Regions from separate parts of the Homo sapiens genome. Here all the other regions are linked to region 2. The links are contacts of gene promoters, found by promoter capture Hi-C in blood cells and fetal thymus (Javierre and others, 2016). All regions are on one chromosome and are shown on one strand. Each heading gives the region's core, a stretch centred on a gene start or on the middle of the fragment in contact. The rest is flanking DNA. Distances are from core to core; before and after follow the strand shown.

Evidence for each region. Contacts are between HindIII fragments. The CHiCAGO score rates a contact against its expected background, and 5 or more counts as called.
Region 1: a contact is called between a fragment that was not itself captured here and the fragment with the promoter of NRN1L in region 2, in 1 of 17 cell types (total CD4 T cells). The highest score is 6.5, in total CD4 T cells.
Region 3: a contact is called between a fragment that was not itself captured here and the fragment with the promoter of NRN1L in region 2, in 1 of 17 cell types (naive B cells). The highest score is 5.0, in naive B cells.
Region 4: the fragment with the promoter of AGRP here is called in contact with the fragment with the promoter of NRN1L in region 2 in 1 of 17 cell types (naive B cells); the score reaches 5.2 in naive B cells.

Annotation. Positions count from the first base shown.
Region 1 is chr16:68,330,245-68,337,111 of GRCh38, reverse strand. All of the region lies in intron 6 of PRMT7 (protein arginine methyltransferase 7), which reads right to left. Among named protein-coding and RNA genes, the nearest start is that of PRMT7, 23 kb to the right of the region's middle. The HindIII fragment of the contact is 2,651 bases long and covers 2,333-4,983 here.
Region 2 is chr16:67,879,872-67,887,079 of GRCh38, reverse strand. It overlaps NRN1L (neuritin 1 like), which reads right to left and starts at 2,195. Exons shown (of 3, transcript NM_198443.2): 1 at 2,098-2,195; 2 at 1,226-1,358; 3 at 712-1,106. The coding sequence starts at 2,176. The coding sequence ends at 821. EDC4 (enhancer of mRNA decapping 4) reads right to left here. Exons shown (of 29, transcript NM_014329.5): 16 at 7,109-7,208; 17 at 6,864-7,017; 18 at 6,090-6,523; 19 at 5,900-6,004; 20 at 5,663-5,815; 21 at 5,547-5,583; 22 at 5,235-5,412; 23 at 4,971-5,126; 24 at 4,753-4,868; 25 at 4,486-4,651; 26 at 4,215-4,401; 27 at 3,903-4,122; 28 at 3,349-3,512; 29 at 2,581-3,124. The coding sequence ends at 2,932. RefSeq lists enhancers at 1,601-2,108, 2,109-2,618, 2,924-3,103. The HindIII fragment of the contact is 1,303 bases long and covers 1,733-3,035 here.
Region 3 is chr16:67,495,452-67,502,018 of GRCh38, reverse strand. All of the region lies in intron 3 of ATP6V0D1-DT (ATP6V0D1 divergent transcript), which reads right to left. Among named protein-coding and RNA genes, the nearest start is that of AGRP, 15 kb to the right of the region's middle. The HindIII fragment of the contact is 7,622 bases long and covers 1-5,462 here.
Region 4 is chr16:67,480,940-67,487,762 of GRCh38, reverse strand. AGRP (agouti related neuropeptide) reads left to right here and starts at 4,216. Exons shown (of 4, transcript NM_001138.2): 1 at 4,216-4,246; 2 at 4,362-4,494; 3 at 4,653-4,738; 4 at 4,945-5,192. The coding sequence starts at 4,365. The coding sequence ends at 5,127. ATP6V0D1-DT (ATP6V0D1 divergent transcript) reads right to left here and starts at 6,369. Exons shown (of 4, transcript NR_184227.1): 1 at 6,244-6,369; 2 at 3,435-3,653. It overlaps ATP6V0D1 (ATPase H+ transporting V0 subunit d1), which reads left to right and starts at 6,606. Exons shown (of 8, transcript NM_004691.5): 1 at 6,606-6,806. The coding sequence starts at 6,677. RefSeq lists a silencer at 6,326-6,495 and enhancers at 6,606-6,655, 6,816-6,823. The HindIII fragment of the contact is 2,406 bases long and covers 3,904-6,309 here.

The sequences.
Region 1 (6,867 bases), core at 2,409-4,908, 450 kb before region 2:
GTTTGAGATCAGCCTGGGAAACATGACAAAACCCCATTTCCACAAAAAATACAAAAATTAGCCAGGCATGGTGGCTCACGCCTGTAATCCTAGCACTTTGGGAGGCCAAGGCAGGAGGATCACTTGAAGCCAGGAGTTCAAGACCAGCCTGGCCATCATGGCGAAACCCCATCTCTACTAAAAATACAAAAATTAGCCAGGTGTGATGGCACACGCCTGTAACCCCAGCTACCCAGGAGGCTGAGGCATGAGAATCACTTGAACCTGGGAGGCAGAGGTTGCAGTGAGCCGAAATTGTGCCACTGTACTCCAGCCTGCGCGACAGAGTGATCCAGCCTGCGCGACAGAGTGAGACTCTGTCTCAAACAAACAAAAAAAACACACACCCAAAAAGAAACCAGGTAAAAATATAAACAGAAAATTCAAAACAGAAATCAAACTTATGAAAACTTTTTCATCCCTATTAGCAATTAGAGAGATATAAATTAACAATTAAACTATTAACCACTAAATTAGAAAAATTATTTGAAAAGCAAAAACAGAATGCTGGTATGTCAAATACTTCTAGGTTGCAGGGAGAGGGAGGGAAAGCCAAAGCAAGACAACAAGGTTCTCTGATGATCTTCCAGCTACTGTGAGTTAGGCTCTGGCAGCCAAAATTGAGATCCATGACTTAGAATCCCCAGATCACTATGGCAAATTCCCTTAATGAAAGCGCCTTGTCACCAAACAATCTCTTAAATAACAGTTGTTTTAGGACAGTAGGATTTTAGAGAAGAGTAGGATTTGGGAGGGATCTTCTGTTAACTGTTTTCTAAACCTCAGTAATGTACTGCTACTTCTACAATTATAATTTTTAATGAGCCAAGAGCCAAAATAGACTTTGGAAGGGGCTATTCATCAGGGAGAATTAACTGTAAACACTTTTAATGCCTCATGAATTATAATCTGACAAAGCCCACTCATTTCCCCTACACAGAGCACAAGTCTCACAGATGACACAAGGAAAAGAGAAGCATGAAAGCAGCTGACAGGGGCCGGGCGCGGTGGCTCCCGCCTGTAATCCCAGCACTTTGGGAGGCTGAGATGGGCAGATCACCTGAGGTCAGAAGTTTGAAACCAACCTGGCCAACGTGGTGAAACCCTGTCTCTACTAAGAATACAAAAATTAGCCAGGCGTGGTGATGGGTGCCTGTAATCCCAGCTACTTGAGAGGCTGAGGCAGGAGAATCACTTAAACCTGGGAGGCAGAGGTTGCAGTGAGCCGAGATCACGCCACTGCACTCTAATCTGGGCCAGAGTGAGACTCCATTTCAAAAAAAAAAAAAAAAGAAAGAGAGCAGCTGATAGAAGAGCACAACAGAGACAGCGTGAACCTCGAGCTCGAGGCTGGAGCCTGGCCTGGATCTCACTTCCTATCCCTGAGCCCTCCGTTCTGACCATCAGTTGCCTCATCAGTAAAACGGGTGAATGGGCTCTGTCTCATGTGGTGGTGGTCGGGATGATGAAGATAAAAAAAAAAAAGCACACTTCCTATGAAGCTCACCTGTGCTCCATGACAGTATCACGTGGAGGAGCTTAAGAAGAAACTTCTGTCTTCTGCCACAGAGACCACCCTCCCGAGAAGCCCTGCCCATCCTCTCTGATGTCACATCAAACTCCAACTGGAATACACTGTCCAAAACTCATCCCACCCACCCCAGCTAACACGCCTGCTCCTCCCTCCAGGGTTTCTGCCTCAATCAATCAATGAGTCACATAGTCCAGGAATCTGGGCATCATTTACTAGTTCCAGGACAGCAGGACCGCTGACTGCCTGTCCACTACTGTACCCCAGCACCCACAAGGTCTAGTGCCCCGTAACAGTCAACACACATTAGATAAATTATTGATTTCTGTCACCCTACAACCCACTGATCACCCACTCTGCCAATTCTATCTCCTGAATGTTTAAACCAATTATATAACTTAAAATGCTTTATAGTCCAAATTGCTTCATTAAAATAAAAATCAAGAGCCAGGCACAGTGACTCACACCTGTAATTCCAGCACTTTGAGAGGCCAAGCTGGGCTGATCACTTGAGGCCAGGAGTTCGATACCAGCCTGGCCAATGTGGTGAAACCTTGTCTCTACTAAAAATACAAAAATTAGCCGGGTGTAGTAGCACGCGCCTGTAGTCCCAGCTACTCAGGAGGCTGAGGCATGAGAATTGCCTGAACCCGGGAGGCAGATGTTGTAGTGAGCTGAAATTGCCCCACCATACTCCATCTTGGGTGATACAGTGAGACTGTCTCAAAAAATAATAAAAATTAAAAAAAAAAAATTCAAGCTTTATGGTCCAGTGCATTTTAACAAGTACTTCTTGAGGGCCTGGTATTTTGAGTGTGACTGCTAATGTATAAGGGCACGGGGTGGGGGAGTCTGAAGCAGGTAGCCACCCCAGGAGCTTCCTAAGCCCTTTCCAAATGAACAAAATGGACGGATGAACACACGCTGCTCCCTGGGTTGGCTCTCCACAAGCCTCAGCATGTAACCCAGCTCTGGGGAACAGGCAACTTCAGATGCCACTTTTAAAAAGGGCTGAGAGCAGAACCTTGGAAAGTATACATCTGGAGCAGAAAGAAAGCAACACAGGAGAACCAAGATGAAGAGATGTCACTAAGGTCCAGGGAGAGTTTCAAGAAGGAAGGAATGGCAGAAGTACCAAAGCGGCAGTGGTTAGAGAGGAAAAGCAGAGGAAAGACCACCCAACTTGGCAATGAGGAAGCCACTTGTCAGGCTGAGGATCGGAAACAAAGTCACATTTACAAGGGATTATGGATGAAGCACAACTGACAATCTACTCACTTTACAAAAATTACCTAACTCCTTTACATGACAGGCCCGGAGCAAATAACGGAATGGAATAGTTAATACAACCCACGCAGTGCATGACCTCAGGATGCCTCAGCTGGGTGGGGATACAGACATTAAATACATAACTACATAATGATTTAATGATTGCAGTGGTAAGCGCTATGAAGAAAAGTATTACGAAATTGGCCAGGCGTGGTGGTTCATGCCTGTAATCCCAGCATTTTGGGAGGCCAAGGCAGGCAGATCGCTTGAGGTCATGAGTTCAAGACCAGCTTGGCCAACATAGTGAAACCCCATCTCTACTAAAAATACAAAAATTAGCCAGGTGGTGGTGCATGCCTGTAATATCAGCTACTTAGGAGGCTGACGTGGAAGGATCACTTGAATCCGGGAGGTGGAGGTTGCAGTGAGCCGAGGTCATGCCACTGCACTCCAGCCTGGGCGACAGAGCCACTCTATCTAAAAAAAATTTTTTTTTTTAATAAGAAATCATATGAGGGGCCTGGCCTAAGCTGAGGTGTGTGTGAACAATGCTGCCTGGAGGCAGAGTCAGCATACTTCATGGCCAAGGCTGCCCTGCAGATCAGTCTCCCTGCCGTCAAAATGGATAAATTTTCAAGAATAAATGATCTCGCCAGGTACAGTGGCTCCCATCTGTGATCCCAGCACTTTGGGAGGCTGAGGCAGAAGGACTGTGTGAGGCCTGGCGTTCAAGACCAGCCTGTGAAACAAAGCGAGACCTAGTTTCTTTTCTTTTCTTTTTTTTTTTTTTTGAGCCAGAATTTTGCTCTTGTTGCCCAGGCTGAAGTGCAATAGCGCAATCTCGGCTCACCGCAACCTTTGCCTCCCAGGTTCAAGCAATTCTCCTGCCTCAATCTCCTCAGTAGCTGGGATTACAGGCATGCACCACCACACCTGACTAATTTTGTATTTTTAGTAGAGACAGGTTTCTCCAAGTTGGTCAGGCTGGTTGCTACTCCCAACCTCAGGTGATCCGCCAGCCTCGGCCTCCCAAAGTGCTAGGATTACAGGCATAAGCCACTGCACCCAGCCGCAAGACTTAGTTTCTAATAAAAATTTAAAAAAACAAAAAAATTAGTTGGGTATGGTGGCGCCTGCCTGTGGTCCCAGCTACTCAGGAGGCTGAGGCAGGAGGATCACTTGAGCCCAGAAGTCGAGGCTGCAGTGAGCTGTGTTCGCATCACTGTACTCCAGCCTAGGCAACAGAGTGAGACTGTCTCAAAAAAAAATAAATAAATGAATCAATCTCCACTCTGGCCATAGTGGAATAAGTGGGATCAGGCTTACCCTCCGGCTGTTATCAACTAGAAAACTGGGCAAAATATATGAAACAAGTGTTTTCAGATGTTGAGCAAGAGGCAACACAGTTTGCTCCCTAAGAAGGGAAACAAACCAAGTAACCCTTACCCTGCTCTGGCTATCAGCCAGGAGACCCTTTCCAGACCACAGTATAGGGTAAGAGGTGACACAGAGCACGGCAGTCTTGCTGAGTTAAACAGACAGGAAACGAGTTCAGGGAAGTGGAAGCAGCTGGAACTTGCCAGGCAGAGAATCAGAGAGGAAATTACACAGAAAAAAAGCCTTCAGAATGCTGCACAGGGTTCCTCTAGGGTCTGTGTTAATACATTCACACACACACAGGGTAATACTCTGTGAAGCCGAGCAAAGGTTGCATGAGTGATAACAATCTCCGGAGCTCTCAGAGGCCTGGGAAACATTCAAGTTCTGATCAGCCAGACAAGGGAAACCCTGCTGAGCACCTAGAGCTCTCAGCAGACACTCCAGAAAGGTTACAGTAACTGTCTGGCTAAACAGCCTTAGAGCAGTGGTTCTCAACAGGTGGCAATTTTACACACTCGAGACCAAGGAAGACGTGGCAGTCTGGAGACATTTTTAGTTGGCAAGAATGGTGGGAGGAGGGGAGTGCTACTGACATCCACTGGGAAGAGGCCAGGGACACTGCTAAACATCCTACAATGCAAAGGACAGGGTCCACAACAAAGAATTATCAAAATGTCACATAGTTGGAGAATGCCAAAACGTCACAGCACTACTGTTGAGAAGGCCTGACTTAAAGCTACTCTAACCCCACTCCAAAGAAAGCTTAAACAAGCCCTGAAAGGATCAATCTGAACTGCAAGTAACCCAACTGCATGCCAAAGTTTAAAAAGCAAAACCAACGAAGTCTAGCACTCAACAATGGGGAATTCCAAATAGCCACAGCATCCAAACAAAAATGGTTAGACATGTGAAGAAGGAAAATGTGACCCAGAATAAGGATAAAAATGAGTCAAGAGAACAAACCCAGAAAAAACAAAGATGGTGGGAACAGAAGATAAGGATGTTCAAAAAGCTAAAATAAATGTGCTTATAGAAAACTATGAACATGAGAAAAATGGAAGTTATGAAAAAGAATCAAGTGGAACTTTCAGAGATTAAAAAATACAATATCAAAAATGAGGCCAGGCACAGCGGCCCACGCCTGTAATCCTAGGACTTTGGGATGCTGAGGTGGGAGAATCGCTTGAGCCCAGGAGTTTGAGACCAGCCTAAGCAACAAACTGAGATCCCATCTCTACAAAAAAAAATTTTTTTTAAGTTAGCCAGGCATGGTGGCATGAGCCTGTGGTCCCAGCTACACAGGAGGCTGAAGCAGGAGGACTGCTTGAGCCCAGGAGGTCAAAGCTGCAATAAGCCATGCTCACACCCCTGCACTCCAGCCTGGGGGACAGGTCAAGATCCTGTCTCAAAAAAAAAAAAAAAAGAACAACAAAGAAAGAGAAATGAAAAGTTTACTAAATATACTTAACAGCATATTAGATGCTGCAAAAGAAAAGATCAGTGAATCTAAAGACCTATCCAAGAAATCCCTGTCCATCAACAGGTAGAGAGATAAACAAGTTATGGTACATCTATCTAATAGAGTGCTGCTCAGTAACACAAAAGAACGGACCCCCAAGACATGAACAGTGTGGAAGAATCTTACCAGCATCACGCTATAAAAAAGAGAGCACACACACAGAAGAGTCCACACTTCTTTGATTCCACTTCCTTGAAATCCTAGACAGGCAAATCTAATCTATAATGAAGTCTATGAGTGGGTGCCTAGGACCAGGATATGGGGGGACTGATAGAAAGGGTTATGAGGAATCTCTTTGGGCATGATGGAGATGTTCTATTATCTTCATTATGGTGATGGTGGTTACAAGTGTGTTTATATTTGTCAAATATCCATAATGAAAATGGATATTCATTTAATGTAAATCATACTTCAATAACGTTGATTGTAAATGGAATGATTTGAGCACTCTATTGTATATTTTAAAAATAAAAAAGATAGGCCGGGCGCGGTGGCTCACACCTGTAATCCCAGCACTTTCGGAGGCCGAGGCAGGCTGGTCACCTGAGGTCAGGAGTTCGGGACTAGCCTGGCCAACACGGTGAAACCCCGTCTCCACTAAAAATACAAAAATTAGCCAGGCATGGTGGTGCACGCCTGTAATCCCAGCTACTCATGAGGCTGAAGCAGGAGAATCGCTTGAACATGGGAGGCAGAGGTTGCAGTGAGCTGAGATCCTGCCATTGCACTCCAGCCTGGGCAACAGAGTGAGACTCTGTCTCAAATAAATAAATAAATAAGATAGTACCCACTTCTTTTGTACATGTTTCAGATTCTCCATTAAAAAAAAATTGTTAAATGGGAGAATAATGTTGACCTTAGGTAGAAGCTTCAATTCAGAATGATACTGCATTCTCCAAAACCGTGGTGAAAAAGCCAGGTGCAGTAGTGCACACCTGTAGTCCCAGGTACTTGGGTCGCTGAGATGGGAGGATCACTTTAGCATAAGAGTTTGAGTCCAGCCTGGGCAACATAGTAAGACCCTATCTCCACAAAAAATTAGAAAAAACCCATGGTGTTATCCATAACTTCACCACAGTTTTTCCTTTGCAAATCTTTCAACTATGTTCTCTAAGTGTCAGTGGCATGT
Region 2 (7,208 bases), core at 946-3,445:
GCTCCTCGCACACCACATGCTCTTGTTCCACGGCTTCCAGAAAGCCTTCTGCAATTGTTTTGACTACACACTGCCTACCTCTTCTCAAAGAACAAGCTTGTGGAGAGCAGAGGCCAGAGGAACCCTTATGGTGACTCCAGTTTTTGCCACTTCAGGTCACATCAGGGGCTTGAATGTGGACTTCAACAAAGGCTCCCCACCTTCTAGAACAGGCCTCCCTCAGATAGACCAGAAAACCAGAGGAAGGGACTGAGCACATAGTCTGTGCTATGCCTTGAAGGCTGAGGTGACAGGCAGAGAGAGGAGGAGGTGAAATGGTCAGGAGCCCAGAGGCTGGGGAGGGGGTGGAGCTGAGATCAAGGGCACTTCACCAGCTCACCTGGCCCCCAGGGGCCAGGATAGAAGGGGTAGGCAGTGCTAGGAGTGCAGGGCTGAGACCCCACCCTCCCGATCTCAACCCGCACAGGAAGGTAGAGGAAGACTGTGCATTCTGGCAGATCTCCAGTCTCCACTGGAGGAGCTCTTGGGGCCTGCATGAAATGGAAAGCTTTGCGCTGCCACTGGGAAATGAGTGTTTGTAAGGAGGAAGATTGAGGGCCCCTGTGGTGGCCCTCAGCCCCGCCCATTCCATCCAAGCAAAGGATCAGTTTCTAGGAGTCCCTGGCCCCAGCCGCAAGCAAGGCCACAGCCAGGAGAAAGGAAGGAGCTTACTACAAATATAAATACCTTTAATGAAAAGCCCTGCTGCGCTCTGCAGAGCCTGGACAACCACCGCCAGAGCAGGGCTGGAGGTACGGGCGCTGCTACCCAACCCAACAAGCTAGGCCAGAGGCCTCAGGAGGTAGGCCAGAGCCAGAGCAGCCGCCAGCAGTGGGGGCGCAGGGGCCATGGGGAGTGCAGGCGCTGTAGCCCGCAGCGTCTCCTGGTTGGTTTCGGAGCCTGTGCCGCGCTCCCGAACATGCACCGGGGCACCGCACAGAGTGTGCAAGTTATTCGGACGGGGGGCCTGGCGAGCTTCTTGCTGTAGTGATTCCCACACTGCAGCTGCCTCCTCCGGACAGCCTGACAGGACCTGAGAGGCACAGGCATGGAAGTCATTCCAAGACCTGTTAAGGGAGTGGGATTAGGGGGATTAGGTGAGGCAAGGAGACTTTAGCTTGGGAAATAAAAGGTTCAGTCCCCAATGGTGGCACAGGTTGGGCCACTGCCTCACACCCGCCGGTACCTGCAGATGGTCTCCAGCTCGCCTCCGCGGCCCATGCTGTCCCCCAAGCGGATGAGACACTCGGCGAAGCCCTGGTATATGGTGTCACATCGGTTTGGGCCCGCTGCAGCTGCTGCCAGGGGAGGTAAAAGGACTAGAAGTGGGGCGGGGGTGGGGTGGGGAAGGAATGGTAGATAGGATGAGCCAGGCTCATCCCCCAGCCCCCAGGGGCTTGTTTACCTGGGAGCACTCTGGGGATGTGACTCAGCGGAAAAAGGGTGCCCCAGGGAACTAAAGGGCAAGTCTGGGGATTACCTACCCAGGCCCCCTTCAAGGTAGGACCCAGACTGGGATTTGTACAGGGGAAGGGGGTGTTGTGTACCCCAGGTCAGCTCTTCCTTTGAGCTTCTGGGGCCGCAGGTGGGGTGACAAGGGTCCATGTAAAGGAGTCAGGACAGGGTGGAGGGGAGGGAGGTCCAGAGGCCCCGGACCAGGAGCAGGTGCATCTCTCTGCGGTTTAGACAAGCTTTGCTTGGCCCTCCGAACTCTCTCTAAAGATAAATATTTTTGGAGAGACAAGGCAGGATGCAGAGGTATTGGGATCCAGGCCAGACCCTCAGAGAGGACTTAGGGATCCTACGACTGGTCTATAAGTCCTGCCATTGGCATGTCTCCCTTTATCATAAGAGGGGATGCAAATTTTGGAGTCCTTCTCCCATAACTGGGGCTGTTTGTGCCTCTCACTTTCTGTCCTGAAGTCACCAGCACACCTTCCTGGAGCCCTTACAACTCTTCTCCACCCTGGCACCCAGCGTTCCCACACACCCTATGCCCAGCCTGGCTTGGCTGGGCGAGAAGGGGGTGTGGCCCGGGCCCCGGATGCCCGCACTCACCGAGGGGCAGCAACAGCAACGGCCTCAGGGCATGGGGTGGTTGCCGGCAGCAGCAGCGGCGGCGGCAGCAGCGCATCATCCCTGGCTGAGAGCCTAGTGCAGGAGCTAGCTGCTTGGAGTGCAGCCCGTCCGCCCAGCCCCCGGAGGGAGGGACGGTGATTGGATGGGAGCTGGGGGTGGGGCTCCGAACCCAGCCGGCGGCTCCGCCTCCAACACCCAGATGGGAAAAGGAGCGAGGAGACCTCAGAGAGCAGAAATTCGCAGGAGCACAGGCTGGTGCTGGGCAGGCCCCTGGACCCTCACTCCATAGAAGGAGGGAGAAGGGAGATCTGGGAAGGCAGTTGGAGCAGATGAGTGGGTAACCCGGCCCCTTGGCTGGGTTGGCCTCGACAGAGCTCCACGGGCAAGAGATGGGCAGAGAACGAACAGACGGCAGTTATGAGAGTCACACCAAAGACAAACCAAAAGCACACACATACTCCATTTTATTCCAAAAGCATTTAATTGAATTTCTCAATGTTTTTCAAAAACAAAAAGATCCAAATTAGAGGTAAAAAGGAACATGGAAAATTCCACTCAAGTGGTGTCACGATCTCAGGGTCATGCTCCAGGCATGGCAGAACCCAAGCAGGCGCAATACCTGCCCTGGGCCCAGCTAAACCTTCTGACTACCACACGCTGTAGACCACGGCCAGTGCTCCCTGCTCCCTGACCCCCAAACACCCCAGAGATGGGGGCCTGAGCAGGTAAAGGCCAGCCGTGACCCTGCCCCAGCCTAGGCCTGTCTGCTGGCCTTCAGTGCCATCCCACCCCTGGGCAAGGCAGGCTTAGCAGCTAAGGGAGGCTGGGGGTCACGAGGCCATGCAGCATGAGGCTGAGACGCCGAGCTGCTTTGCCAAGTGAGTTGTGTGGCTCAGCCTGCAGGAACTGAAAAAGCTTTTGGCGCACCTGGGCCATAACGGAGCCCATGTGGTCCCGAGTGATGGGGTCACTGTGGTCCAGGTGCATCACGGCCTCTTCCAGGTAGCTGGGGATGGGGGGGAAAGGACAGGCTACAGGTGGGTGCCAGCAGACGGGAGCGCCCCCTGGTGGCACCGAGGCCCAGAGGGAACCCTCTGGGTGAAGGCAGAAAGGACTGGTGGAGAAAATTAGGGAGAGGATTCAGGCAGAAGTGGGCGTCAGCTTCAAACTGCTCCCTCCCACTGCCCCACTCCCCAGCTCATCTCCCCATCCCTGGCTGTCCCCACTTACCTGAGCTTGAGGTCAGTTCGAGTGCCAAGGTCAGATGCCAGCTGCTGGATGAGGGAAAGGAGCACAGGCTGGGAGAGCGGGCAGGGTGGCTGCCCAAAAACCTGGGCTGGGTCCACAGTTTCACACACATACAGCACCAGGTTCAGGTCAGCAGCTGTCAGCGCCTGGAGGAGAAAAAAGCAGCAGTGTTTATAGCAAATATCAGGATGGAATGTCTGCTTGTCTGAACTGTGTGGCCTGGGGGAGGATGACCACAGGGTGGGCTAGTGAGAGCTCCAGAGGGACTCAGAGAGAGCCTGTAGGGCTGTGTAGTTACCCTAGGGGATTGGGAAATGGGTTCCTGAGAAGGGTAGTTGTAAAGCAAGGTGGGCTAGGTGGGAAGAAAGGGGTCCAGGAAGAGGAAGCAGCAGGGACAATGGCCTGGAGGCCAAAGGGAACCAAGAACAGTCTGCTGGGGCCAGAAGGTGCAAAGGTGGTGGGTGGAGTAGAATGTATGGTATGTGGGCCTTGTCAAGAGACACGTGACCCTTAGCAGGGCCTAATGCCTATCGTACCTGCTGGAAGGCCTGATTGAGGTGGCCCTGCTGCAGCAGCTGCAGGATATGGGCTTGCTGGGCCTGGCAGTCAAGGTGGGCAGAGGGGACAGGTGTGCCAGCAGCTGAGCGCATGGCCTGCATGATGCTGGAGGTGACGGCGGCCTGCTGCTCCTTGAGCGCCACACTCACCTCACCCTTAACGATGCGCTGTACCTGTGCTAAAATGGACTCCTGCAGGCTGCAAAGGGAAGTGAGTGAGGTGAAGTGGACAGGGAGCCTAGTCTGGCCTTTCTCAAGCCCACCACCTTGCCCAGTACTCTGCCCACACACCTGCCCACAGCCACATGCAGCTGGTGCTGCACCTCAGCACGAACACTGCCGGCCACGGTGGCTGCCATCTGCTCAGTGGCACTCTGCAGTGTGCTGACCAGGCCCCGCAGCTGGGCTAGCACAGGCTCCCTGGCCTCCTGTTCCCGTGCCTTCCGGCTCTTCATGTGGCTTTCTAGCTGCTGCAAGTCTGAGGGGTGACCACAGGGACTATAAGAGGAACAGTAGGAAAGAGGATAACCCCTCCCACCTTGGGCCATATGACCCCACTCACATTCCTGTGTCCCCAGCCGGAAGCTATCATTGATTTGCTGGAACATGGCCTGGCAGCTCTTCTCAAAGGCCGGCAGCACCACACTCTGGAAGGCTTCCCGGTAGGCAGCCTGCATCGGCCCTTGTAATGTGTCTGCAGCTGCTCGGGCGATGGCATCAGTCAAGTTCTGGGGTTAGAGGGAGGGGCCAAGTTGAAAGCCTGAGCCCAGCCTGGCCTGACTAGGCCCAGGAACCACCACCTCCACCCACATCTTGGGCCCTATAGCACCTTGGACTTGAGCAGCTTGGAGATGTTCTCTTTCATGCTGCCCTCCACAGCTGTGAGCTTGGTAGCCACTGAGTTGCTCAGTTGGCCTGCCATAGGCTCCAGACTCCTTGAGACACCTGGGAGAGGGGAAGAGGGTGAGGTGGAGCCATGAGAAGAAGCTTGACAGGTACCCCACTCCCACCTGAACCACCCAAAGGGAGTCTGCATGCAAAACTCACATGGAGGGACTGTCTTCTTGATCTCATCCCGTATGCTGCGCTCTAGCCGCCCAGCTACAGCTGACGACAGTGCTTGGGACAACTGTTGTGTCAGCTGCTCCTGCAGCTGCCCTCCCCGCTGCTGCCCCTCAGCCAGTGCTCGCTCCAGCCGCCGCTCTGCGCCATAGCTAAGGAACGGGCCTGGAGCAGGTCGTGTACTCCTTCCCAGGCCAAGAATGCTGCCCCCGTCCCTATGCCATGTTGTGCTACCAGTCTCAAGGATACGTTCCTGCTCGTGCCGAGTCTCAAGGGCACGTTCTACGTGGCCTGTGACTGTGCTCTGCAGGCCTTCGAGTTGGGTACACAGACGCTGCAGCAGCTCTTCCTGGCTGTGCCGCAGCTCTGCCAGCTCTCTCTGCTGTTGCCAAATTAGTGCTGGCCAGTCCTCAGGGGGCTCTGCCACCTGTCAGTAGCACTGACAGTCACACGATGCCTGCCCCACCTATTCCCACACACCAGACCAGGGAATGGCCCAGAGCCCTTCTCCACCCGCCCAGGGTGAAGTTCCACAAGTACAAAGTGGGCTCATTCACTTACCTGGTGCTCTGTGAGCCGGGATCCCATGGCTGCATCCCTGCCATAGGCGAGAAGCACCTCAGGCTATGTGAGGCAGCCTAGAGACCACCCTCTCCCTCCCTAGGATTTCTCCCTACCCATCATCCTTCTTGCTTTTCCTCTTGAGCTTGGGTGAGGTTCGAGGGGATCCCTTGGTCTTCCAGTCCTTGGCAGGCAGCCGTGGAGCAGGAACTTTGGTGCCAAAGCCTCCTGAAGCAGAGGCAAGGCTGGCCACCTCATCATCATGGTCACTGTGGGAAGGGGAAGGAGGAGTAAGCCCCTGCCCACTTGCTGCCCATCCCCCCATGAGGGCAATGGTGTAGAGTGGCTCCCACCTTTGCTCAGCACTGGCATCCTGGCTGTCACGTTGCTGCAGCAGGTGATATGGTGGTCGGTGGAAGGCCAGGCTCTTGTGCTTTTCCTGAAGGCCATTCCTGGGGCTGGGAGGACAGGCCAACTTAGCCATGGATGAATCTATCTGAAGCCCCTCCTGCTAGCACACTTTTCCCCTCCCAAGCTCCTCACCTTTCTGCCAGGGTGCTGCAGGTCTCACGAGTAATGTCAGGTGCTGTGGGCCAAACCTGACTGTCAGGAGTCGAGGCCTCCTGGGTCAAGGCTGCCTCCAGGAGGGAGGGGGTATTATGCCGATCTCCATCCCCAGGGCCTCCATCAAGCCCGAGCTGGGGGCCGAGCTCGGGCCCTGGCCGGGGCCGTGGGGACAGCAGGTGCAGTGCCGAGGCGGCTGAAGCCATACTGTCTGGCTCAAGGCCCTCTGGTGCAGAGGAGCCAAAACCACGGGACAGGGCCTCAGATGCAATCTCAGGGATGTCCTGGGACAGGGCAGTGGAAGCTGAGGAGATGACATCAGGGGAACGAGTGCGGCTAGGGGAGGCTTGGGGTAGCCCCAGGGGCTCCACTTCCTGCAGCTCCAGGGACAGTGCAGAGGTGGCAGTAGGCACCTGAGGTGGGCCAAAGATGGGGGCTTAAGTGACAGGAAGTGAGGCAGAGATGGGGGGCACAGAGACGAGGCATTAGTATTAGCAGTAATGAGAGACAGGGCAGCAGGGAAGTGGGGATACAGGTCAAAAACGAGGCCACAGCCAAGAAGAGGAGGTGGGGACAGGGAGGCTGAGGAGACACCCACCAGGAAACACAGGAGGGTGAAATGACCTCAGGGAAACACGGACCATGTCGGGTAGAGCAGGATCAGCAGCAGGGGGCTGGGAGGAGCCCACCACCCACCTTCCCTGCTGCTGCCCACCTGCTCCCCACACTTCACACACACACCCAGTCACACACCTGGCCCGGCCCCTTGGGAGTCAGTTTGTCAGCTGGGGCTGGGAGCAGGCCAGGCAGGAGGCCACGCGGGCTTGCCTGAAGGCTGCCACTGCTGCTCATTGTCAGGCTGCCATCCAGCTGCAGCTTGGGGCTCAAGGTCAGCTCCTCAGGTGGCCTGGTGGGGGAAGGCTGAGGTGTCAGCAGCCAGAGCTTGGCATCATCTGGTACCAGCCCCTGCCATCCTCCATCTCTGACCCTTGCCTCACCTGGTCAAGGAGGGGTCCACAGCTGAGGTGCTGCTCATGGCAGACACAGCTGTAAGGGAGCTGCTGCTACTGCTGCTGCTGCTGCTGCTACCGCTGCTGC
Region 3 (6,567 bases), core at 402-2,901, 380 kb after region 2:
GGGTGACAAGAGCGAAACTCCGTCTCAAAATAAATAAATACATAAATAAATTTCAGTTTTGAAGTTACAACTTGATAGTTTTGTTGTTGTTGTTGTTGTTGTTTGAGATGGAGTCTTGCTCTGTCGCCAGGCTGGAGTGCAGTGGTGTGATCTCGGCTCACTGCAACCTTCACCTCCCAGGTTCAAGCCATTCTCCTGTCTCAACCTCCTGAGTAGCTGGGATTACAGGTGCACACCATCACGCCCACCTAATTTTTGTATTTTTAGTAGAGAAGGGGTTTCACCATGTTGGCCAGGCTGGTTTCAAACTCCTGACCTCAGGTGATCCACCCACCCTGGTCTCCCAAAATGCTGGGATTACAGGCATGAGTCACTGCACCTGGCCACAACTTGATAGTTTGGAGTACCAAATGTATCATCATACAATGACGATTTATTTTATTTTATTTTATTTTGCTTTATTTTTGAGACAGAGTCTTACTCTGTCCCCCAGGCTGGAGTGCAGTGGTGCAATCTTGGCTCACTGCAGCCTCTGCCTCCTGGGTTCAAGCGATTTTTGTGCCTCAGTCTCTGAATACCTGGGATTACAGGCACGTGCCACCATGTTTGGCTAATTTTTGTATTTTTAGTAGAGACTTGGTTTTGCTATGTTGGCTAGGCTGGTCTTGAACTTCTGACCTCAGGTGATTCACCCACCTCAGCCTCCCAAAGTGCTGGGATTACAGATGTGAGCCACTGCGCCCGGCCTATTTTATTCCATTACCAGTTCATACCTATCATGTGAAAAGAAGAAAGTAGGCTGGACGTGGTGGCTTACACCTGTAATCCCACACTTTGGGAGGCCGAGGTAGGCGGATCACCTGAGGTCAGGAGTTGCATTCCAGCCTGACCCACATGGTGAAACCCCGTCTCTATTAAAAATACAAAAATGGGCGTGGTGGCGGGCGCCTGTAATCCCAGCTACTCAGGAGGCTAAGGCAGGAGAATCACTTGAACCCGACAGGCAGAGGTTGTGGTGAGCCGAGATCATGCCATTGCACTCCAGCCTGGGCGTCAAGAGTGAAACTCCATCTCAAAAAAAAAAAAAGAAGAAGAAGAAGAAGAAAAGGGACAAGAGTCAGTCATTATACTGGGGACCTGCCTTATGCTGGAGCCTAGAGATCTTAGGGCTTTCCTGACTTTCCAAGGATGGGATTCAGTATGGCAAAGGCAGAGTGGGATACAAGTGAGTGGGATGGGGGAATGGAAAAGGATTAACTAGGCTGCTCGTAGGGCCTTAGACAAAGGTGCTTCCAGGTCTGGTCAGCTGCTTGGGGAAGCCCACGAGGGCACCACGTGGCCCTCCCATTCGATAACATCCCTGTTCCTTTAGTCATGCCAGCATCGAAGCATGGACTGGATGGACTCTTGTTATCATCATGAGGACTGCAGAGCACATGACATCCAAGGACACAGCTGAAATCTCCATGCCACCCATCACTTTATCTTGGTGGCAGCAGGAATGAGGACCTAATAGGAAATCAGCTCACCCAGGCAACCCCATGCAGAAGGTTTTCCCACTTTTCCCAACAACCACCAGTTCTGGAGCCTATATCCACCTATTTGTTCAAGACATCCTACCTGCTTTCCCTTCTTTCTTTCCTTTTTTTTTTTCTTTTTTTTTCTTTTTTTAGATGGAGTCTTGCTCTGTCACCCAGGCTGGAGTGCAGTGGCGTGATCTTGGCTCACTGCAACCTCTGCCTCCTGGGTTCAAGCGATTCTCCTGCCTCAGCCTCCCGGGTAGCTGGGACTACAGGTGTGCACCACCACACCCAGCTATTTTTTTTTTTTTGAGATGGAGTTTCACTCTTGTCTCCCAGGCTGGAGGGCAATGGCATGATCTCAGCTCACTGCAACCTCCGCCTCCCAGGTTTAAGCGATTCTCCTGCCTCAGCCTCCTGAGTAGCTGGGATTACCAGCATGTGCCACCACCATGCCCAGCTAATTTTGATATTTTTAGTAGAGACGGGGTTTCACCATGTTGGCCAGGCTGGTCTTGAACTCCTGACCACAGGTGATCCACTCGCCTTGGCCTCCCAAAGTGCTGTGATTACAGGAGTGAGCCACTGTGGCTGGCCCCGGCTAATTTTTTAATATATATATATATTTTTATAAGAGACAGGGTTTCACCACGTTGGCCAGGCTGGTCTCCAACTCCTGACCTCAAGTGATCTGCCCACCTTGGCCTCCCAAAGTGCTGTGATTACAGGCATGAGCCACCATGCCTGGCCCCTTCTTTTTTTCTTGCCTTTCCTCATCAGCTTGGACCCCAGGGTCGAGACCTACAACCTCCCTCTGGGTCATTATCTAGGGCACCATGCCCAGTGGTAGTATGTGTCCCTCCTGTCTATGACATGCCTGATCGGGGTCCACCTCATGTCCCATTCTCTCTCATACTCCATTATCAGAAGAATGAAGTGCCAGGGAATAGGCAGCAGGTGGCCTAGTGCCTCATCACCCTGTGATATCCACGGATCTGCTGTAACCTCAGTCTTCAGTTGGGGGTTGAGCATGGGGTGATGAGGGTGCATTCATAGTCCAAAAAGCAAGAATCGTATCCTAAAGTGGTGACTCAGCTTGGCCCTGATCAGGCCAGCAGCATCTGGGCTGTGCAGTATTTGGTGGAACCAGTGATTTCTATGTCATGTGTCTGCTGCCAAGGGAATAAGGGGAGGGAGGATCAGGCAAGGGCCTGAGGCCAGCTCTGCCTCCGCTCCACGTGCTGGCCCAGAATAGACCCTGCCCCTGGTCTGATGCTCTTCCTCCATCCCCAGGGTCCTCAGGCAACGGGGGAAAATGAGCAGGGCCAGGTTGGGGAGGGAGTCTGGCCCCAGTGCTCCTGACACTTGCTCCCCAGCTGAGAAAAGTAGACTTTTCTGTGAAATGAGAATATCATCATCTTGGTTGCCAGGTTTAGATTTGCCAAGAATGGGAGGCTGAGGCCTTGTTCCTTCTTGTCTGCACCCCCTCTCCTCTGTCCTAGGCCTTTGGATCACTGCTGAGGAAGGCTTCCCAAGCCCACCCCCAGAAAGAACTGAGCTTGGCCAGGTGCAGTGGCTCATGCCTGTAATCCCAGCACTTTGAAAGGCTGAAGCAAGAGGATTGCTTGAGCCCAGGAGTTCAAGAGCCTGGGCAACATAGCAAGATCCTGTCCTTAAATTAAAAAATTAAAAAATATATATATATACACATATATATGTATATAAATCACGCCCTTGCCTGATCCTCCCCCCAACCTTATTCCCTTGGCAACAGACACATGACAAAAAAAAAAAAAAATGTAATCCCAGCACTTTGGGAGGCCGAAGCAGGTGGATCACCTGAGGTCAGGAGTTTGAGACCAGCCTGACCAACATGGTGAAACCCCATCTCTACTAAAAATACAAAATTAGCTGGACATGGTGGTGTGCTCCTGTAATCCCAGCTACTCAGGAGGCTGAGGCAGGAGAATCACTTGAATCCAGGAGGCAGAGTTTGCAGTGAGCCGAAATCGTGTTATTGTACTCCAGTTTGGGCAACAAGAGCGAAACTCCATGTCAAAAAAAAAAAAAAGGCCAGGTGCAGTGGCTCACACCTGTAATCCCAGCACTTTGGGAGGCCGAGGCAGGCAGATCATAAGGTCAGGAGATTGAGACCATCCTGGCTAACACGGTGAAACCCCATCTCTACTAAAAATACAAAAAGTTAGCGGGGCGTGGTAGTGTGCGCCTGTAGTCCCAGCTACTCGGGAGGCTGAGGCAGGAGGATGGCGTGAACCCGGGAGGCAGAGCTTGCAGTGAGCTGAGTTCACACCACTGCACTCCAGCCCGGGTGACAGAGCGAGACTGTCTCAAAAAAAGAGAAAGAAAGAGAAAGAGAGAAAGAAAGAAAGAAAGAGAAAGAAAGAAAGAGAAGGAAGGAAGGAAGGAAGGAGAGAAAGAGAGAAAATAAAGAACTGAGCTGGGTATAAGCCACTGTCTTCAACCTTTGCAGCACTACAGGCTCCACGACAGAAGTTCTGAACTGGGACTGTTCAGACAATGTGTCTTGTCTTACCACTGTAGAAAGGTGACAAGAGCAGGAGGACCTGGGACTTGGTGTATTTGGGGCCTCCCTGGGTTGGCCACAGCTCTTTCCAGCTCATTCCTCTTGTAGGCTGCCCTGAACTTGCTAACCCAGGGCCAGACTCTGGCCTATGATGAGGAAGCCATCCTGTGTGCTGGCACTCACCCTGGCTGTTCCAGTTTGTACCTTGGGAGTCAGTTTTCTGACCCCCAATGTTATGTCCGAGCTGGAATCTGAGGACAGGGCTGCTCAGTTGGGTTCTCAGGAGCCTGGTGAAGATATCAGGTCCAATGGGGCCTATGACCTTGAACTCCATTTTTTCAGGGCTGTCAATAACAGGAGGAGCATAGGTTGTCATTGGGTGAAGTTGCCCAAGATGGTTGCCTAGAAGGAGTTTAGGGGGTTGGATCCTGGGGTCCAGGCCACAGATGGAGGCTGCAGAGAGTGGAACTTGGGAAGCCAGTGCTGGAAAGGTGGGAGACTCTGGAGAGAGGAGTGAGGGGTGCTCTAGAAAAGGTGATGGGTTGGAGGAATCATAGGAATCCCTGGGGTGTCCACATAAGTGTCATCTCCTGACATGGGGAAGTGGTGGGTGGCATTCAGACCCAGCTTCTCTGGACCCTTCCTTGACTTTGGTTCACCCTGCAAGTACGGCTGTGGGCCGGCCTGTGGCCAGGTGGTCTTAGCTGGACCACGAGGGCTGTGTGCTTTGCAGGCCCCAGTAACAGTGACAAAATCCATTCAGGACATGCTGAAGGCAATAAGGTGATGGCTGGGCTCACAGAAAAAGAGGCGGGGGCCTTCCTGGACTAGGAAGGCTGAGTCATCTCCTGGTGGGTATCTCCAAGGAGTGGACCAGACCACAGGAGCCCCAAAAGACCCAAATTCTTTGTGTTCAATACCCAGCCTTCACATCAACCCTGCTCCCTCCACCCCCAGGTTCCTAGTAAGCCCTAAGCATTTGCACCAGGCTCTGGCATGCAGTAAGTGCTCAGGACATATTTTAAGATAAAGGAATGAGCGCTGCCTCCTCACTGGGTTACAAGGGCCAGCACCTATTTGGTGTCCCCGGAGCTGAGTGTCAGGCCGCTTATTCCTCTGCCTCTAACATCCCCAGCAGCCCTTCCCACTAATTGGCTGCAGGCCTCAGCCATCATCTAGTACCAGAAAGACCTTGGGCTTTGGAGTTAGAAATGGTGGGTTAGGGCAGAGATTCTCAAAGCTCAGTCACATCAGAGCCACCTGAAAGGTCTGTTAAAACTCTAGCAGTTGGCCGGGCGCGGTGGCTCACATCTGTAATCCCTGCACTTGGGGAGGCCGAGGTGGGCGGATCACGAGGTCAGGGGTTCGAGACCAGCCTGGCTAATATAGTGAAAGCTTGTCTCTACTAAAAAACACAAAAATTAGCCGGGCATGGTGGCTCGTGCCTGTAGTCCCAGCTACTCGGGAGGCTGAGGCAGGAGAATCGCTGGAACCTGGGAAGCGGAGGTTGCAGTGAGCCGAGATGGAGCCACTGCACTCCAGCCTGGGCGACACAGTGAGACTCCATTTCAAAACAAACAAACAAACAAACAAATAAACAAACAAACTCTAGCAGCTGAGCCCTACCCCAGGAGTTTGTGATTCATTATGTTGGGGCAGAGCCAGACTTAACATCCTCCCAGGTTCCTACCTTAGGCTGATGCTGTTGGTGTGGGCGCCACATTTTGGGGGATAAGTATGCTTAGACACACGTGGAACAGACTCTTGGTGTCCACTGCTGGTATCTGCCTCTGATGTGTCTGGGGCTTTCTGAGCTCACTCTACAAGTTGGTCAGAAGTGCTAGGAGTTAACTCTCCCCCAACAACCCTCCAAGGGACTGAGACAGGGTTGCTGTATATCTACTCACCTTCCTCCTGCCTTGGGTGGAACTTCTCTGAGACATGCATTCTGCACTGCAGCCCAGAGTTCCCCACCCACACCCCGGGGGGACCAGGCATCCCTGGTGGAACCCTGCTTATGACCCACTTTATAGTGGCTGTCTTCCCTCCCTGTATTTTTGTACGCTTGTTCTTTGTATCCTCTTTTATTTCCTTATTTATTTTTGAGACAGGGTCTTGCTCTGTCGCCCAGACTGAGTGTAGTGGCATGCTCACGGCTTACTGCAGTCTTTTTTTTTTGAGATGGAGTCTTGCTCTGTCGCCCAGGCTGGAGTGCAGTGGTGCAATCTCAGCTCACTGTAAGCTCTGCCTCCCGGGTTCAAGCCATTCTCCTGCCTCAGCCTCCTGAGTAGCTGGGACTACAGGCGCCCGCCACCACACCCGGCTAATTTTTTTGTATTTTTAGCAGAGACAGGGTTTCACCATGTTAGCCAGGATGGTCTTGATCTCCTGACCTCATGATCCGCCTGCCTCGGCCTCCCAAAGTGCTGGGATTATAGGCTTGACCCACCGCCCCCGGCTGGCTTACTGCAGTCTTGACCTCCTAGGCTTAAGCAATCCTCC
Region 4 (6,823 bases), core at 2,967-5,466, 400 kb after region 2:
AATTTTTGTAATTTTTGAAGAGACAGGGTTTTGTCATGTTGCTCAGGCTGGTCTGGAACTCCTGAGCTCAAGTGATCCACTCGTCTCGGCCTTCCAAAGTGCCAGGATTACAGGTGTGAGCCACTGTGCCTGGCCCAATTATATCACTATAATGTTATTATCCATTTTGCTGTTGATGGATATTTGGATTGTTTCCAGTTTTCTTTCTTTTTTAAAATTTTTTATTTTTTTAAGACAAGGTCTCATGTGCATAAGCTGGAATGCAGTAGTGTGATCATGGCTCACTACAGCTTTAACCTCCTGGGATCAAGCGATCCTCCCCACCTCAGCCTCTGGAGTCACTGGGACCACTGATGTGCACCACTGTGTCTGGCTATTTTTAAATTTTTTTGTAGAGATTGGGTCTCTGTATGTTACCCAGGCTGGTCTCAAACTCCTGGGCTCAAGACAGTCTCCCACCTCGGCTTCCCAAAGTGGTGGGATTACAGGCATGAGCCACGGCACCAACTTTCTCTATCTTTTTGTTTTATTCCAACCCTCAAAGGATTGGATGATTCTGGAAACACCCTCACAGGCACACCTAGAAATAATATTTAACCAGATATCTGGGCATTCCTGGCCCAGTCAAGTTGACACACAAAATTAACAATCACAGATCCTCTCTAGCTCAGGGCTCAATACACCAGCCCGAGAGAACCCCCATCCATCTTCTCCTCTCCCTGAATGACTGAGGAGACCGTGCCTCTCCAGGCAACCTCTGCCTTAGGAAATCCTACAGATGATTCACAGGAAACACATGGCTGTGCTCTCTGGGGCAGGGGCAATGGGCTGGGTAGGGGTTTCAAAATCAACCCTGATTGACAGAGCCACGGGTGCTTGCAGTTTTTCCCTGCACCCCCCACCCTCTCCCCTGGACAAGGTGGGAACAGGGCCCTTGAAGGGGAGTACACTGCAGGAGGAAAAAGAAGAGAAGGGAGAGGGTTTGAGCACCCCTCTCTGTCCTCATGTGGTCTCTGGAACGAGCATGCACACTCTCCCCTTTCTCCTCCCTGCACAGAGTCCCTGTGTTCCGGGCCCACACCCTCACTTAGGAGGCTCTGCCTCCCCCAGGGTTTCCCAAATCCTCCTCCCAGAACATGCCACATATTTCTGAAGGTCCTTTTGCCAACAAGCATTGTCCTGGGAATATCAGGCTGGTTCCTTACCGTAAAATTACCCACATAGTGAAACTTTTTTTTTTTTGAGATGGAGTCTCACTCTGTTACCAGGCTGGAGTGTTACCAGGCTGGAGTGCAGTGGCACGATCTCAGCTAACTGCAACCTCCGCCTCCTGGGTCCCAGTTCAAGTAAATCTCCTGCCTCAGCCTCCCAAGTATCTAGGATCATAGGTGCGTGCCACCATGCCCAGCTAATTTTTGTATTTTTAGTAGAGATGGGGCTTCACCATGTTGGCCAGGCTGGTCTTGAACTCCTGACCTCATGATCTGCCCACCTTGGCCTCCCAAAATGCTGGGATTACAGGCGTGAGCCACTGCATCCGGCTGTGAAACTTTTTTTTTTTTTTTTGAGAGAGTCTCGCTCAGTCACCCAGGCTGGAGTGCAGTGGCGCGATCTCGGCTCACCGCAAGCTCTGCCTCCTGGGTTCACACCATTCTCCTGCCTCAGCCTCCCAAGTAGCTGTGATTACAGGTGCCCGCTATGACGCCCGGCTAAATTTTTTTTTTTTTTGTATTTTTAGTAGAGATGGGGTTTTGCTGTGCTAGGCAGGATAGTCTCCATCTCCTGACCTTGTGATCTGCCCACCTCGGCCTCCCAAAGTGCTGGGATTACAGGCGTGAGCCACCGCACCTGGCCTTTTTTTTTTTTTTTTTTAATGGGGACTGGGTTTCGCCATGTTGCCCAGGCTGGCCTCGAATTCCTAGGCTCAAGTGATCTGCCTGCCTCAGCCTCCCAAAGTGCTGGGATTATAGGCGTGAGCCACCACCACCATGGCTCACTGCAGCCTCAATCTCCTGGGCCGAAGCTATCCTCCTCCCTGTCTCCTGAGTAGCTGGGACTACAGGTGTGCATCACCACATTCAGCTAATTAAATTTTTTTTTTTTGGTAGAGACAGAGTCTCACTATGTTGCCACTCCTGGGCTCAAGAAGGTGTGAATCACTACACCTGGCCGTTTTTTTTTTTTTGTTTAGTTTTGTTTTTGTTTTTTGAGACGGCAACTTGCTTTGTCGCCCAGGCTGGAGTGCAGTAGCGCGATCACAGCTCATTGCATTTTGGCGCTGGGTTTTCTTGATATCTCCCCCACTGGACCTGACCGGGGCATGGGCTGCCCTGTGAGTGCCTCAGCCCTCGTCCATCACTGCCCATGGGGCTGATACACCTGTGTGCACACACTCAGGTGAAGACAGCTGCTGCCCGTAGGTGAGGTAAGACACTGAGCACCTGTGTGGGAGGAGATCTTCCACTCCCACTCTGTCCACACCAGACCATGAAGAGCTCTCCATAGCATGGGTGCTGACCAGGCCCAGCCTGGGTGACAGAGTGAGACCCTGACTCAAAGAAAAAGACATAATGAGGTGTGATTTTAATTTCTTGGATGTCCCAGTATATATAAATGTTGGGAGTATGGATTGCTTCATTTCATTTTAAATAGCATTTTTTTTTTAAGATGGAGTCTCACTCTGTCACCCAGGTTGGAGTGCAGTGGTGCGATCTCTGCTCACTGCAGTCTCTGCCTCCCGTGTTACAAGTGATTCTCCTGCCTCAGCCTCCCGGGTAGGTGGGATTACAGGCATGTGCCACCATGCCTGAATAACTTTTGTATTTTTAGTAGAGATAGGGTTTCACCATATTGGCCAAGCTGGTTTGAACTCCTGACCTCCAGTGATCCGCCCACCTTGGCCTCCCAAAATGCTGGGATTACAGGCGTGAGCCACCGTGCCTGGCCACCCTTTATCTTCTTTTCTTTTTGAGACAGGATCTTGCTCTGTCGCTCAGCCTGGAGTGTGGTGATGCAGTCATAGCTCACTGCACTCTTGAATCCCTGTGCTCAAGCCATCCTCCCACCTCAGCCTCTACTACAGGCATGCACCACTACACCCAGCTATTTTTTTATTTTTTGTAGCAACGGGGTCTCACCATGATACCCAGGCTGGTCTTAAACCCCTGGCCTTGTGATCCTCCCACCTTGGCCTCTCAAAATGCTGGAATTACAGGTGTGAGCCACCATACCTGGCCCCCTTCATCTTTTTTCCACTGCCTTGTGCCAACCCAGTTTGTGCACTGGGGCCTTGCGATCCTCTCAAAGCTGATTCAGCCTGCATTCCTTTCCCAGATGGACACGTGTGTGATAAACAGCTCTGCAGTGGGGTGAGGGAAGGCAGGGGCAGCAGGGTCCTGTATGTCCTGCCATCTCCACAAAAGGGCAGTCCTTACCCCAGCCTTGTGCTGATGAGACCAGGCATAGACAGTCCTGACGACACAGGGCGGAAGGGAGCAGCCATTAGTGCTAATGAGGCAGGCGGCCTGAAAGCTTTGTACTCTGCAGTGGCTCGCCCACCCAGGGAACAGTTCGTTCTGTTTCCTTGGCTTCCAGGAACCCTAGGCAGAAAGGGGTTTGGGGACAGGAGCAGGAGTGGGCGGTCTTGGAGAAACCTGGAGGGAGAAAGGGAGGGGAGGACCAGAAATGTAGTCAGGAGGGCCTAGGATTGGTTAGGTGGGCTTTTCCTTCCCCTTTCCCTCCAAAGAAACCCAGGTTCTGGTTCTGCACCTACCCCTGCCCAACAGTGGCCATTGGCCCATCACCCGCTCCAATGTCCTTGACCCGAATTCTTGGAAGCACAGGAAACAACATGCCACATAGGGGTTGAGTAAGCATCTCTGGGGCCACAAATTAAATTAAGCTTTCAGGGCCGCCTGCCTTGTTATTGCTAATGGTTCTAGCCCTGCTCAGCTCCTAGGTCCCTGTCCTGTGGAAATTTGTGGACCCTGGGCACCCTCTCTTGCTCCCAAATTTTAATCGGCTCCTGGAAACCTCACCCCAAATTGGAGATAGGCACTCCTCTTGTAGAACAAAAGGCTCAGGTTCAGGGAGTGAGGGCCTGAACTGTGCCCCCACCCTCCAGGAAGGGTCCTTCACGGCCTGGCTGCAGGGATCAGTCACGTGTGGCCCTTCATTAGGCCCTGCCATATAAGCCAAGGGCACGGGGTGGCCGGGAACTCTCTAGGCAAGAATCCCGGAGGCAGAGGTGAGTCCTCAGGTTGGGCAGGGACTCCTCCTCTCTGTGGGGTCTCTATCTGGGCACCTAGAGGGGACTCCAAGGATAAGGAGGGACTAAGTGGTACATCTTCCTGCTGAGCCAGGCCATGCTGACCGCAGCGGTGCTGAGCTGTGCCCTGCTGCTGGCACTGCCTGCCACGCGAGGAGCCCAGATGGGCTTGGCCCCCATGGAGGGCATCAGAAGGCCTGACCAGGCCCTGCTCCCAGAGCTCCCAGGTCAGTGTGAGCAAGGGTGGGACTGGGCGGGGCCTGAATACCCTCTGGCCACAAATAGTCTCCCCTGGCATAAACCCTCTTTCTCCCTTCCCAAACCCTCCCCTGGGAGGTGGGTGCTTTGTGCATGGGGGTTCCTGCCCTCACATCCTCTGCCCCAGGCCTGGGCCTGCGGGCCCCACTGAAGAAGACAACTGCAGAACAGGCAGAAGAGGATCTGTTGCAGGAGGCTCAGGCCTTGGCAGAGGTAACTGCTCAGGGAAAAGGGTAAGGTGGTGGCCCTTGGGAGGGGGCATTGGGTATTAGCTCCTCTCCCCAGCTCCAAACTCCCTCACCAGCGACGACACTACCGACCACCCCTTCCCATGCTCCACTGCCATCCTGCACAGGTTGGGACAGGTAAGATCCCTGGATCTGTCTTTAGAGGCCTGTGCTGGTTCCCCACCCCTGCAGGTACTAGACCTGCAGGACCGCGAGCCCCGCTCCTCACGTCGCTGCGTAAGGCTGCATGAGTCCTGCCTGGGACAGCAGGTGCCTTGCTGTGACCCATGTGCCACGTGCTACTGCCGCTTCTTCAATGCCTTCTGCTACTGCCGCAAGCTGGGTACTGCCATGAATCCCTGCAGCCGCACCTAGCTGGCCAACGTCAGGGTCGGGGCTAGGGTAGGGGCAAGGAAACTCGAATAAAGGATGGGACCAACCCCAAGGCTGTGGTTATTTCAAACGTGGCCGTCAAAGGAGGGAGGGTTCATGGAGGGGGTGGGAGTGTCACCAAGCCAAGAAACCACACATACTCTTATCCCAGGGCCTGGGCTACCCTATCATAGGAGGCACATACACGGGCGCTTTTAGGGGTCCTGGTGCCCCTGGGAAAAATAGAGAAGAGCCGCACTCCAGCTTTCGAAAATCTTGTACAGCAAGTGCGGGGAACGCAGGACGCAGCGTGGCACAGGGGCTATCACTCCTGGCTAACAAATAAGCCTTAGGCTCCAGGGCTTGCTGCTACTTCCACGCAAAGCCTGCCCCTCATCCTGTTACCAGAGGGAAGGCCAGGAGTGTGCGTTGTTCAGGTCCTTAGCGTTTCGAACAAAGAATTGAACAAAACCCAGAAAGTAACAAACGAATGACACACAGGAAGGAAGCAGACAGCTGGGATTTGTTAAAGCGAGAAAGCACTACGCAGGGTGGGAGTGGGCCTGAGCAAGAGGCTGAAGGGGCTCAGTTACAAAGTTTTCCGGGTTTTAAGTACTCCTTTTGCGGTCCCTGTCCGTTACCCCTTATCTGGATGAAGGGTTTGGTCCATGGCTAATTAATCCATTTATGCCTGAGGTTGCAATCTTTTTGAATTTTTGCAATCAGACCTTGGCCATGACCTTGAGCAGTAGGATATAAATAACTCCCATATGCTTAGCGTTCCAATAATGGAACACAAGGCATAAATGGGGCTAAGGTGAATTGGCGCCCTATGCAGATGAAGGGATGGCCCGTGCTTGGCCCGCAGCCAATCCAAGGCACTCTCCCTTTCAACTGAGACGTGGTGGAAGGGGGAGGGTTGTGGGGACAGTGGCCTTTGATCCTTTGTTACTTGGACATGGGGAGATGGGGTTTTTCTTTTTGGTTTAGCTTTAGTAAGCTCGCCTTAGTTGGCCTCCGGTTCCCTGCCCCCAGACCTTGGTGTTTTCCCTTGATTCAGCTTCAGAATTCAGCACGTATTGGCCTCAAGTTCCCCGCCTCCAGACCCTATTCTCCTACCTCAATCGGACCTCAGTTTCCCTCTGGGGAGGAGGCTGGCCCAGCAGTCTGGAAACTTTCCAAGCTTGAGAAGGGCTCGCTCCCTTCTTTACCCCGCCCGCCCTGCAGCGTCAAGTGCAGCAAACCGGGGAAAGCTAGAGAAGGCCCAGTCAAATCCCTGCGGCCACAGGCGCCACCAAGCGGCCGGCCTCAAACTTCCTCTTTTTAGCGCGCAGGCGCCGCAGGGCCAGCCCACGCCTGCACCGCGCTTCCGCGCAGCCACCCGGAAGCCGGGCACCGCTCAGAGCCACGCCCCCTTATGGTCACGTGAGGCGCTTGCGCGTCACCTGACGCACTTGACAGCCCGCTGAGGACGCAGCGTCAGCTGACCTGGGGAGTCGCGATTCGTGCCGGCCGGTCCTGGTTCTCCGGTCCCGCCGCTCCCGCAGCAGCCATGTCGTTCTTCCCGGAGCTTTACTTTAACGTGGACAATGGCTACTTGGAGGGACTGGTGCGCGGCCTGAAGGCCGGGGTGCTCAGCCAGGCCGACTACCTCAACCTGGTGCAGTGCGAGACGCTAGAGGGTGAGCCGGGGCCGCGA